Regions from separate parts of the Homo sapiens genome. Here regions 1 and 3 are each linked to region 2. The links are contacts of gene promoters, found by promoter capture Hi-C in human tissues and cell types (Jung and others, 2019). All regions are on one chromosome and are shown on one strand. Each heading gives the region's core, a stretch centred on a gene start or on the middle of the fragment in contact. The rest is flanking DNA. Distances are from core to core; before and after follow the strand shown. Region 1 overlaps SLC26A11 (solute carrier family 26 member 11). Region 2 holds the start of CARD14 (caspase recruitment domain family member 14). Region 3 overlaps SGSH (N-sulfoglucosamine sulfohydrolase).

Region 1 (4,394 bases), core at 389-2,888, 60 kb after region 2:
TTTATAGTAGAGACGGGGTTTCACCATGTTGACCATACTGGTCTCAAACTCCTGACCTCGAGTGATCTGCCTGCCTCGGCCTCCCGAAGTGCTGGGATTACAGGCATGAGCCACCGCCCCGACCCAAACTCTAGAACATTTAAAACTCTGAGCCAAACTCGGTGGGTTCTGATGCAGGGTCAGAGCTGAGAACTGATGCATGGCCAGCTGTGGCCGTTCTCAACCTGAAGCAGTTTTGCCCCCTGGTGACACGTGGCAATGTTGGGAAACATTTTTGGTGGATACCACCGGGCGAGGCAGTTGCTGGCAACTAGCGAGGAGGGGCCAGGAATGCCACTAAGCCCCTGACGGCGCACAGCCTTCCACAGCAAACAGTGATCCGGCCCAAAATGTCGGCGGTGCCGAGGTGGAGAAACACAGTCTACTGGCAGGTCCTGGGGAGACAGAACAAATTCCGGGGAGACCAACAGGCTCTGTTTGAATTGTGCAGCTTTATGGGGGTACAACTTCAGCTTCAGGCGCGGAGGCTGCAGGCTGAGCCACAACCAACCAGGGGTCCTTTGAGAAAGGGGTGGTGAGGGCTGCGTCGTGGAGGAGCAGGGCTGTCAGCAGGTGAAGGACCACCCTGGGGGAGGTGGAAGCCTCTTCTCAGTGCATCCGGGATGGGCATGGGTCCCCTGGCTGAGCACCGGGCAGGGATGCCCAGAGAAGAAGGCACACCCAGGAAAGTCAGGAAGCATAGGTGACTCCAAACCTTCTCAGAGCCGAGGGGACAGATTAAGCTCAGAATAACCCGAGCTTGGTCTTGCTGTTTGGGGGCTGCAAAATCCAACAGCCACAGAAGAGAGAGGGTGGCTGGATTTAGCTCTTGAGTCACTTCTGCCTGCCCAGGCTGGTCTGTTCTCTGTGGTCTCTCCCTGGATCCTGTTCAGCAGACTTGAGGCCGTGGTGAACACTGAGAGTCTGGTGGGGTGCAGAGGATGCTGGGTTTAGAGTGGAGATGTCCAGCTTCCAGTCCCAGCCTGGCCTGGGTTTAGACTTGCAAAGTAGCTTCCAAAGTTCCTGAGCTTTAGTTCAGTTGTCCGTGAAATAGTGAAAATGCTTTGTTATCTTTGTTATCTTTTGTTTTTTGGTTTTTTTTGGAGACGGTGTCTCACTCTGTTGCCCAGGCTGGAGTGCACTGGCGTGATCTTGGCTCACTGCAACCTGCCTCCTGGTTTCAAGCAATTATCCCGCCTCAGCCTCGCGAGTAGCTGGGATTACAGGCGTGCACCACCACACCTGGCTAATTTTTGTATTTTGAGTAGAGATGGGGTTTCACCATGTTGGCCAGGCTGGTCTCGAACTCCTGACCTCAAGTGATCCGCCCGCCTCAGCCTCCCAAAGTGCTGAGATTATAGGCGTGAGCCACTGCGCCTGGCCTATGCCTTGTTATCTTAAACCTTGAGACTCAGAGTGTGGCCTGGGACCAGCAGCCTGGGCACTGGGCATCTCCTGGGAGCTTACTGGAAAGGCAGGATCTCAGGCCCCACCCCAGATCTCCGAATCAGGATCTGTATTCTTCAGGGCACGCCCAGGGGATTCATGGGGTCAGCTTAGAAGTCAAAGTTTGGAAGCCGGGCATGGTGGCTCACGCCTGTAATCCCAGCACTTTGGGAGGCCGAGGGAGGCAGATCACCTGAGGTCAGGAGTTTGAAACCAGCTTGGCCAAACCCCGTCTCTACTAAAAATACAAAAATTAGCTGGGTGTGGTGGTGTGTGCCTGTGATCCCAGCTACTTGGGAGGCTGAGGCAGGAGAATCACTTGAACCCGGGAGGCGGAGGTTATAGTGAGCCAAGACTGCACCACTGCACTCCAGCCTGGCAACAGAGCGAGACTCCTTCTCAAAAAAAAAAAAAAAAAAAGTCAAAGTTTGGGAAATGCTTAGAGACCCCATGTTTTTCAGAGACTTGTTTTGTATGACTTTATGAGATGATCAGGCAGGTGTGGCCACAAGGGGAGACAGCGAAAGGCTCAGGAAGAAAACCAGTTTATTATACTCACAGGTCCTAGAGACAGGAGGCACAGCATGCCACGTAGGGCCATGTCAGAGGACACCAGGGTGGCCAGGAGGAGAAGCCAAAGCTGTGGTTTAGGCCACAGCCTTTATCGAGATTTTCTTGATAAAGGCAAGGTGAAGAAAGGCGACCAGCTTAGGACTTGCAGTTGGAGGAATTTTGGTGGGTTTCAGGCTTAAGGCAGAAAAATCTTGCCTCCTGGGGTGCAGGCCAGGCTGGTGGAGGAAGGATGGCTCCAGAGGGGTTAGCTGGCATATCAGAGACACACTTGGGGCTGCTTTTTTCTCTAGTACTTGCCTAACCCTGAAGGCAGTGTCTCCGCAGCCAGAAAGGTCTTTTAAGATGTCTAGACATCGTAATGTACAGAAACTTCAGAAACATTTACAGTGTAGGGCTGCTGACTCCTTTCTCCCCAGTGTGTGTAGCATTGTCTTAGGAAACTACTTAAAAAGCTTTTGATTCTTATAACAGCTTTGAGAATGAGTTTATTATTTTTTCCATTTTGTCAGTGAGGAAAGTGAGCCTATGAAAGATGAAAAATAAAACAGAACTTCTCAAGGCCACACGACTGGGAAGAGGCAGAACAAGGACTTCACCCGAGTCGTCTGTCTTTTTTTCTGAATGGTCTGTCTAGAAGTGTGTCAATGTTATGATCCTCTCAAAGAACCACCTTTGGTTTCATTGATCTCCCTTTTGCTTTGGTTTTCTAGTTCATTGATTTCTGCTTGGGCCTTTATTATTTCCTTTCTTCTATTTATTTTCAGTTAACTTTATCCTTTTTTTTTTTTTTTTTCAAAAAAAATTTTTTTTTTTTGAGACGGAGTTTCGCTCTTGTCCCCCAGGTTGGAGTGCAATGGTGTGATCTCAGCTCACTGCAACCTCCGCCTCCCGGGTTCAAGTGATTCTCCTGCCTCAGCCTCCCAAGTAGCTGGGATTACAGGCGTATGCCACCATGCCTGGCTAATTTTTTGTATTTTTAGTGGAGACGGGGTTTCACCATGTTGGCCAGGCTGGTCTCGAACTCCTGAACTCAGGTGATCCACCCGCCTCAGCCTCCCAAAGTGCTGGGATTACAGGCGTGAGCCACTGTGCCCGGCCTTTTTTTTCAGATTCTTAAGGTGGAAGCCTGGATCTTTGATTTGAGACCTTTCTTCTTTTCTAATATGGTTGTTTAAATGCTGTAAATTTCACTCCTAGCATTACTTTAGCTGCATCCCACAGTTTTTATATATATGCTGTTCTTTAATTTTTATTCGGTTCTAAATACTTTGTGATTTCCATTTTGACTTCTCCTTTGACCTGTGGATTATTTAGAAGTGGATTATATGATTTCTTCTGTGAACCATGGGAGTTATTTAGTTTCCAAATAGTTGGGGGTTTCCCAATTAGTACTTTGCCATTGATTTCTAATTTAGTTCCATTGTGATAAGAAAACGTACTTAGTGATTTAAATCTGTTTTCCTTTATTGAGAGTTGTATTATGGCCCTGAATATGGTCTATCTTAGTGAATATTCTGTGTGTGCTTGAGAACATGTTTTCTGCCATTATTGGGTGGAATGTTCTGTAAATGTCAGTTAGGTCTGGTTGGTTATCTCAGGCTACTATATTCTTGCTGATTTTCTTTCTACTTGTTCTGTTGATTATTAAAAGAAGAATGTTGAAATAACTTCAGCTATAACCATGACTTTGTCTATTTTCCTTTCTTACTTACCAGTTATTGTTTCATATATTTTGAAGCTCTGTTTTTTAGTATAAAAACATATAGAATTATAATTTTCTCTTGGAATGATACTTTTTTTTCTGGGCAATATTCTCTTCCCTGAAATCTACTTTGATACTAAGAGAGCTACTCCAGCTTTCATTAGTGTTAGCATATCTTTTCCCATCTTTTTACTTTTTTTTTTTTGAGACAGAATCTCTCTCTGTTGCCCAGGCTGGAGTGCAATGGCGTGATCTTGGCTCACTGCAACCTCCACCTCCCAGGTTCAAGCAATTGTTGTGCCTCAGCCTCCCAAGTAGCTGGAATTACAGGCTTGCACCACCAAGCCCAGCTAATTTTTGTGTTTTTAGTAGCAATGAGGTTTCACCATGTTGGCCAGCCTGGTCTCAAATTCTTGGCCTCAAGTGATCCACCTGCCTTGGCCTCCCAAAGTGCTGGGACACCACACCCAGCCTCCTATCTTTTTACTTTTAACGTATTTAATTGATTTGTGTTCTTGTGTTTAATGGTATGTTTTATGGGCAGCATATAGATGGGATTTGTTTTTAATCTCATAATCTCTGCCTTTTAATTGGAATCTTATGCCATTTATATTTAATGTGATTATTGGTCTGT
Region 2 (4,338 bases), core at 405-2,904:
CTCTGCAAAGGCCCTTCATTCCTTTCTATGGCTGCACCTTGACTATTTCTATGGCTATTTCTGTTCTTAGGGAGGCTCCTCCCATCTCCAGTGCATTCTTCTGCCCCCCTCTTTTACTGGGAATGGCGGCATTTCTTTGCGTTTTCTGTAACTAGAATTCTCTGTGTGGCTGGCACAGTGTGATGAGCTGGCAAGCTTCCCCACTGTGGGGGAGGGCTTATCATGAGGTCTGCTGGAGGAAACTAAGAGAGCTGAGCCTTAGGGGCTTAAATGAACTGCCTGAGGGGAAGCTGACACCCAGTGGGGCTGTAACCCTGGTTGGAGAGTTCATGTCTGCACCTGGCCTCGGCCTGCGTTCTCACTTGCTCTGCCCAACTGGCTGTGCCTTCAGCCGGCTCATCACCAGGAGATTTGGGTTGGAGCTACTGCTCAGCCACCATGAGCTACATGACCTTGAAGGCCGATCTTTGATTGTCCGCAGGATAATCCTGAAGGTTCTCAGGCCATGGACCTGTGAATTTCCCTTCTTTCAGTGTCTGCATCATTGGGAACCAAGCCCCTAACCAATGTTTATTCATTCGCTCAACCAATATTTGTGGAATATCACAGCCCTAGGGGTGGGGACACAGCAGGGAACAAGAAAGACAAGAATTATTGTCCTCAGTAGGTTACTGTGGAGTGGGGAGGCTGGCAGGAAGCCACGTAACTAGAATACACGTTAGGTCAAGGCAGTATTCCCACAGAGAAGATGGAACAGGGAAGGGGAGTGAAGGCCAGGATGGGAGGTCTACGGACTTAAGTAGGATGATCTGGGAAGTAGCATTTGAGTAGAGTCTGGAAGGAGGGATGGGAAAGAGTGTTCCAGGCAGTGGGAACAGCAGGTGCAAAGGCCCTGGGGCAGAAGTGTGCCTGGACTGTCAAGACTGTTGGGCTGTGTGTCTGGAGCAGGTAAAAGAGAGATAAGGTCAGCAAGGACCTGATAAGCAGAGCCTCATGGTCACGCTGAGGACTCCAGGACCTGTACACCGAAGGGAATGACAGGAGCTGACTCATGCCCTAGCAGGACTTCTCTGTCTGCTGTGTTGAGCGCTGGTGATGGGGGCGTGGGAAGAAGTTAGGAGCCATTACAGAGGTCCCGGTGGGCCATGATCAGGACACCACAATGCAGGTGGTGAGAATGGATCGGATTCTAGACATATCTCAAGGTGGAGGACCAAGACTTTCATCTAAATCTAAACAATAGTTATGAAATGTTAACTTGAGATGGATCTATTGGAATTATTCAGATACTTCCAATAATGGATCATGAGAACCAAGAAAGGCCCTAGAATTTATCCTGATCTTCGTAGGATTTTCCCAAGGGTAGAAATGATGATGAACTGGGTGACCGTTCACAAAGGAGAGAGGATTCCCAGCCCCCAAGCCTGAAGCCTTCCCCTCAATCACCCTCAATCACCATCTTCTGTGGGTCGACCAGATGCACGGACTGTTCTCAGCCATCCCTGTGGTTCTTACGGCAATGTCTAGCTGTGGGACTGCACTGGTGCTTCGATGGCTCATAGAAGCCCCATATAAGGCACTGCTCCTGTGGGATGTGCCTGTCAAACCTGCTTGTCCACTGCCGTTCAGTTCAGCCAGAGATTGGGCCACATTCAGTCCTCGCTTCCCTGGGAGGGGGAAGGTAAGTGCGCGCAGTCCATCCGGCGAAGAGCAGGTCAGCCTACGGAGGGCTCAGCCTACGGAGGGGCTCAGCCGACACAGGTCTGATGGGGCCCGAGAGTGGTCCCAGGGGAGTGGGAGGGGCCGGCATCTTCCTCATCAGGAGTGGAGGAGCTGCCTTGTATGTGGACTAGAGAACAGAAAACGGCTTGTCTGTGTTGCTGGGTCAATCACTGGAACATTCTCTGAATGCTGAGTTCTGCCTTAAAACAGCATGGGTCATGCTAGATGAAAGGGATCTCTGTTTTATACTCTCATCTCTTCGCTATTGCCGTGGGATGAAAGACAGCAGAAGGAAGGTGTCTAAGTTCAGAACAAAGTGAGCAAGACCAGCTGGCTGCTGTTGGTAGCAGAGGCACAGCCAGCCTGTCATGGCACTGGGGGGCCGAGGTGAGCTGTGCCCCCTCCTCCTGGGCTTGTGACCCTCTGCCCCCCATGGGGTATGTACATGTGTGTGTGTGCGTGTGCGTGTGTGTATGTGTACATGCCTTCTTCCCTACTTCACTGGCAAGGGAAGAGACTGACACTTGGGTTAGGAGAAGGATGTTGACCTGGGAGGGGTCAAATAAGGAGAACCCACATCTTAGATGCTCAGGATTTTATGATCTTAGGCTCTTCTAGAATTGCTGTACAGTTAGATTCAGAGTTTGGAATTAGAGATCTCTGGGCCCTCCCCTCCCCTCCCGTCCCCTCCCCTCCCGTCCCCTCCCCTCCTCTCCCCTCCCCTCCTCTCCCCTCTCCTCCCCTCCCCTCTTCTCTCCTTTTTCAGAAGTCTCCCTCTGTCGCCCAGGCTAGAGTTGCAGTGGCACAATCTCGGCTCACTGCAATTTCTGCCTCCTGGGTTCAGGTGATTCTCCTGCCTCAGTCTCCCAAGTAGCTGGGACTATAGGTGCACGCCACCACACCTGGTTAATTTTTTTATTTTTAGTAGAGACAGGGTTTTGTCACGTTGGCTAGGCTGGTCTCAAACTCCTGACTTCAGGTAATCCGCCCATCTTGGTCTCCCAAAGTGCTGGGATTACGGGCGTGAGCCACGGCTCCTGGCGCCTTCCCATTCACCTTCCCCTTCCCCTCCCCTTCCTCCCTCCCTCCCTCCCTCCCTCCCTCCCTCCCTTCCTTCCTTCCTTCCTTCCTTCCTTCCTTCCTTCCTTCTCTCTCTCCTTCCCTTCCTTCCTCTCTCTTTCTTTTCTTCTTTTCTTTCTTTCTTTCTCTCTCTCTCTCTTTCTTTCTTTTCCTTTTTTTGAGCCAGGGTCTTGCTCTGTCACCCAGGCTGGAGGGCAGTGGCACAATCATAGCTCACTGCAGCCTTGAACTCTTGAGCTCAAGCAATCCTCCTGCCTTGGCCTCCAAAGTGCTGGGATTACAGGCCTGAGCCACTGTGCCCAGCCCTAAGGTTTTTTGTTTTGTTTTGTTTTGTTTTACTGTTAGGACTAACCCTTATTTACACTGGGACAAGTTACAAAGAAACTCCTGCAATTGTTAACTGCCATTGGAGACTACTGTAAGTTGCTTCATGGCAACTGCAGAAGGGACTAGTGACTTCTATTTAGCTCCACCCACTGATGCTTGAAGTTCAGTGTGGCTCTGGGGGCTCCAGAAGCCTGAGGGGCAGCTGGCTGGGGCAGTTGGCTGGGGTCTGGAGAGTTCTGCAGAGCCCCTGTCTTCAGCTGCTGGTGAGGCAGCTTTGGCTTGAGCTGCCCTGGCTTTCTGAGTTCAGTCTGATGGGAGGGCACAGTCAGCACCCTCAGACCCTCCTCAGGAGTCTTGTGAGGCTCGGGCAAGTCAGGGGCAGAGGGACAATCCAACTAGAGGACCCTCCCAGACCCGGTCGTTGCCACCTGGACCCAGCCCCAGGAAGGCACCCGAGAAACCTGTAGTCCTCGGCTGACCACCAGTCCTGGTCCTCAGGATATCCGCAGAGACCTGGCTGTCCAGAACTCCCAGGGTTTCAGCTGCAAGCTGGAGATGTGGCCCCTTGGCAACTCGATATAGTAAGATACTGGAGAGCGTGCCAGAGTGTCATTTGCTAGAAACAAACATTATACTGCGGTAAGCCCTAGTTTTTCAGTCATTGGCTCTTTGGCACCAACTTAATCACAAGGCCATTGGCCCCAAAGAAAGGCCTTGTAGGCGACTGTTTAGGGACACCTGTATTTTCCATCTGCCTTGGAACCTCTAGGCTCAGGCCGAATGCCTATTGAAGTAGATGTTTCGTAAGAGATTTGGGGGCAAATACTGGGATTTTATAAAGATGCTGCACTCTCCTTCACTAAGTAGAAAGCTGAGAAATCCTGCCCTGAGGGGAAGAAACAGTTGTCTTCCTGACTGATGCATCCTAGACCAGCCAAGACTTCCTCCCGCTTTCCTTCTTCTAGAACTTTCCCCACTTCAGCCAGTATCTGTCATCCCCTGGGCTCCCACCCTCTCCATGTGCCGCTTTCATCGGGGCTGAGGGGAGCAGGAGAGGAGACGTTTCTGCTGGTGTCCCCGCTGTAGCTGGAGGAGCTCGGCGTCGGCGTGCCTTCGCCTCCCCTTGCCATGATGCCCCCTAAACCGAGTCTGTATTGAGAGAGAAAGGTGGCACCGTTGATCATTACTCCAGGACAAGAGTCATAAAAG
Region 3 (2,861 bases), core at 1-2,500, 42 kb after region 2:
TGTGCACAGGCCTCCTGGGATGGTCACAGCTCATTGTGGAGGGGCTGGCACTGGGGAGAGAGCTTCTCCTCCAGGACGCCGTCGGGGGCGCACACCCAGGGGTCGTGGGTCTCCCACTGCCACTTGGCCAGCTGGTCCCGAAGCATCTCCAGAAGCTGAGCAAAGCGCGGGTCGGTGGCCAGGTTCTGGGTCTCGTGGGGGTCCCGGCTCCGGTCGTAGAGCTCCCAGCGCGCCCGGTAGTAGTAATGACGGAGGTCCTTGTACCAGCCCGTGGGCTGACCAGCTGTGGTGCGGTTCAGGAGGTCCTGGAAGGTGGGTGAGACGTAGAAGTCCTGGTCGATGGGAAAGGGCATCTTGAAGTTGAGGTTGTGCACGAGGCGGAAGTGCCGGTGCTGCACGGAGCGCATGGGGTAGGACATGGTGACCTCGTGGTGGCTCTGGCTGCCAAAGACGGTGGCCCAGAGGGGCTCGGCCTCCAGCGCCGGCAGGAGGGACCGGCCAGTGAGGTGGATGGTCTTCGAGCCAAAGATGGCGTAGCTGGGGTACGGGATCGAGAACCAATCCAAGATGGTGGGCGTGAGGTCTGGAAGGGACGCGGCATCTCAGAGCAGCAGAGCCCTCAGCACACAGGAGCTGCCCTCGGAAGGGCCGAACCTACGCCACTCTGGGCGGCTCCCTTCTCCAATCCAATCAGCAGCGGGAGGTGCCTTGTCGAGCCGACACCTCTCACCGCCACGTCATCTCTCTGGGCCTCAGTGCCTTGAATGGTATAACAAGAGGCCCTGATTCGGTGACATTTAGGATCCTTCTAAAATCCCATGGACTGGAAAAGAAGTCTCCTTTTTGGTAGCTCGTGTACTCCAGCCCCTGTGGTGGGTGTGGCCACAGTGCTCCTGGCTCATCATTTGGGGCCAGAGAGAGATGTGGGCCCCAAGAGAGATGTGGGCCGCGAGCTCGGAGGGAAAGGGAACCTGAGTTTCCTGCTGTCCCGGGCCCACCCCACCTGGAGGCTCTGCCAGGCAGTGGGCAGGACACACGAGCCTCTGCCCTGTGCCGAAGGGGTCACCCCGAGCCCCTCACAAAGTCTTCCTGCACCCGTGTCTTTGTCTGCACATCCATAACATGGGACTAGATGTCCTAGGTCTTTTTAGGAATGAGCAGGGTCATGAGGTGCTTTGGGTCCCCCAGGAAGGCAGGATGGGGTGCACGGATGCTCAGAGAGGGGTCCCCAGGCCCACAGTATCGGCATCACCTGGGAACTTGTCAGACATGCAAATTCTTGAGCCCGCCAAGATCTACTGAATCGGACACCCTGGGATTTGCAATTTGGATATTAACAAGCATCCCAGGTGATTCTGAAGCTCATCGGAGGTAGGCGGGGAAAAGGCAATGGTTTTGAAAGCAGCAGGATCCAGGCGAGAATCCTAGCTTAGTGCTTACCAGCTGTGCAATCCTGAGCAGCTTACTTCACCTCTCTGAGCCTCATTCTTTTCCTCTGTAGAGTGGGAGTGACAGTCCCTTCCTCACCCAGATGATATGAGAGCCACATTAGGTAATGGGTGTGGAGCAGCATCTGACAGGTCATGGCCCCGTCCCAGATCCACTCCCACACCTTTCCTGACGGAGACAGACAAAGGCATACCTAGGAGGCTCACGTAGGCCTCGCTGACTTGGCCCCAGCGTTTTGGGTGCTCCGGGGATGACACCAGTAAGGGTTCAGCAGTGCCCGGCCAGTACAGGTTGGTCCTGCCGCTGGGGAAGGGGATCCCGTTGTCGGACGTGAAGATCACCAGTGTGTCGTTCAGGACACCGGCGTCACGCAGCTCCTGGAGCACCAGTCCAACTCCTGTGGTGAGGGGCCGAGAAGCAGAGCTCAGCCGCAGACACGGAGGGAGGCAGCGGGTGGTGTGTGTAGACCCACCTGCTGCTGCATCCGGCCGCTGGGCTCCAGCGCTTTCCGGATTCGAAAGCACCCTGTAGTTCTTCCCAATGGCCCTGGCTCTTGCCCAGCTCTTGCCCAGCTCCGCCCAGCTCCCATTCCCTGAGCAGGCCTCGAATGGGCCTCCAGGGACTCCAGCCATCCCTTGGCACTTCTGTGTCACCCCCAGGCAGCTGCTCCCTGGTGCCCGCCGGCTTTTGAGTTCTCCGGAATCTCGTGTCTGTCCCATGGAGCAAATAGGGCAGGGGCCAGAGGACGAGGCTTCCTCTATACTCGCTCCTTCCCAGCTGGGGCCAGAGGACAAGGCTTCCTCTATACCCGCTCCTTCCCAGCTCACTAAGAATTAATGGCACCAATAGGGAAATGGCAAAGGTCCTGACCTCCTGTCGTCCCTGACCCCAAAAGACATGTGTGCTGGAATCTGTGAAGGGGTTCTTGTTTGGAAAGGGGAACTTCACGAATAAAGATCTTGGGACAAAATCATCCTGAAGTGCTCAGGTAGGCCCTAAACCCGACGGGGTCCTTATAAGAAGCGGAAACAGGCCGGGCGCGGTGCCTCACACCTGTAATCCCAGCACTTTGGGAGGCTGAGGTGGGCGGATCACGAGGTCAGGAGTTCAAGACCAGCCTGGCCAATGTGGTGAAACCCCGTCTCTACTAAAAATATAAAAATTAGCTGGGCATGGTGGCGTGCGGTGCGATTGCAGTCCTAGCTACTTTGGAGGCTGAGACAGAAAAATCGCTCGAACCTGGGAGGTGGTGGTTGTAGTGAGCCGAGATTGCGCCACTGCACTCCCGCGTGGGTGACAGAGCAAGACTCAGTCTCAAAAAAAAAAAAAAAGAAGAAGTGGAGACACAAAGAGGAGACACAGGAAAAAAGGCCATGTGAAGGCTTCAGCGGGGATGGGGGCGATTCTGCCGC

The links. Contacts are between HindIII fragments. The study calls those that stand out against the background at their distance.
Region 1: a fragment that was not itself captured here is called in contact with the fragment with the promoter of CARD14 in region 2 in 5 of the 25 tissues and cell types used here (bladder, lymphoblastoid cells, mesendoderm cells and 2 more).
Region 3: a fragment that was not itself captured here is called in contact with the fragment with the promoter of CARD14 in region 2 in 1 of the 25 tissues and cell types used here (spleen).

Annotation. Positions count from the first base shown.
Region 1 is chr17:80,228,308-80,232,701 of GRCh38, forward strand. The region is part of intron 7 of SLC26A11 (solute carrier family 26 member 11); the gene reads left to right. Among named protein-coding and RNA genes, the nearest start is that of SLC26A11, 10 kb to the left of the region's middle. The HindIII fragment of the contact is 6,759 bases long and covers 1-4,394 here.
Region 2 is chr17:80,168,376-80,172,713 of GRCh38, forward strand. It overlaps CARD14 (caspase recruitment domain family member 14), which reads left to right and starts at 1,655. Exons shown (of 24, transcript NM_001366385.1): 1 at 1,655-1,681. The HindIII fragment of the contact is 21,960 bases long and covers 1-4,338 here.
Region 3 is chr17:80,210,429-80,213,289 of GRCh38, forward strand. SGSH (N-sulfoglucosamine sulfohydrolase) reads right to left here. Exons shown (of 8, transcript NM_000199.5): 7 at 1,643-1,846; 8 at 1-583. The coding sequence ends at 24. Among named protein-coding and RNA genes, the nearest start is that of SGSH, 8.5 kb to the right of the region's middle. The HindIII fragment of the contact is 4,264 bases long and covers 1-2,861 here.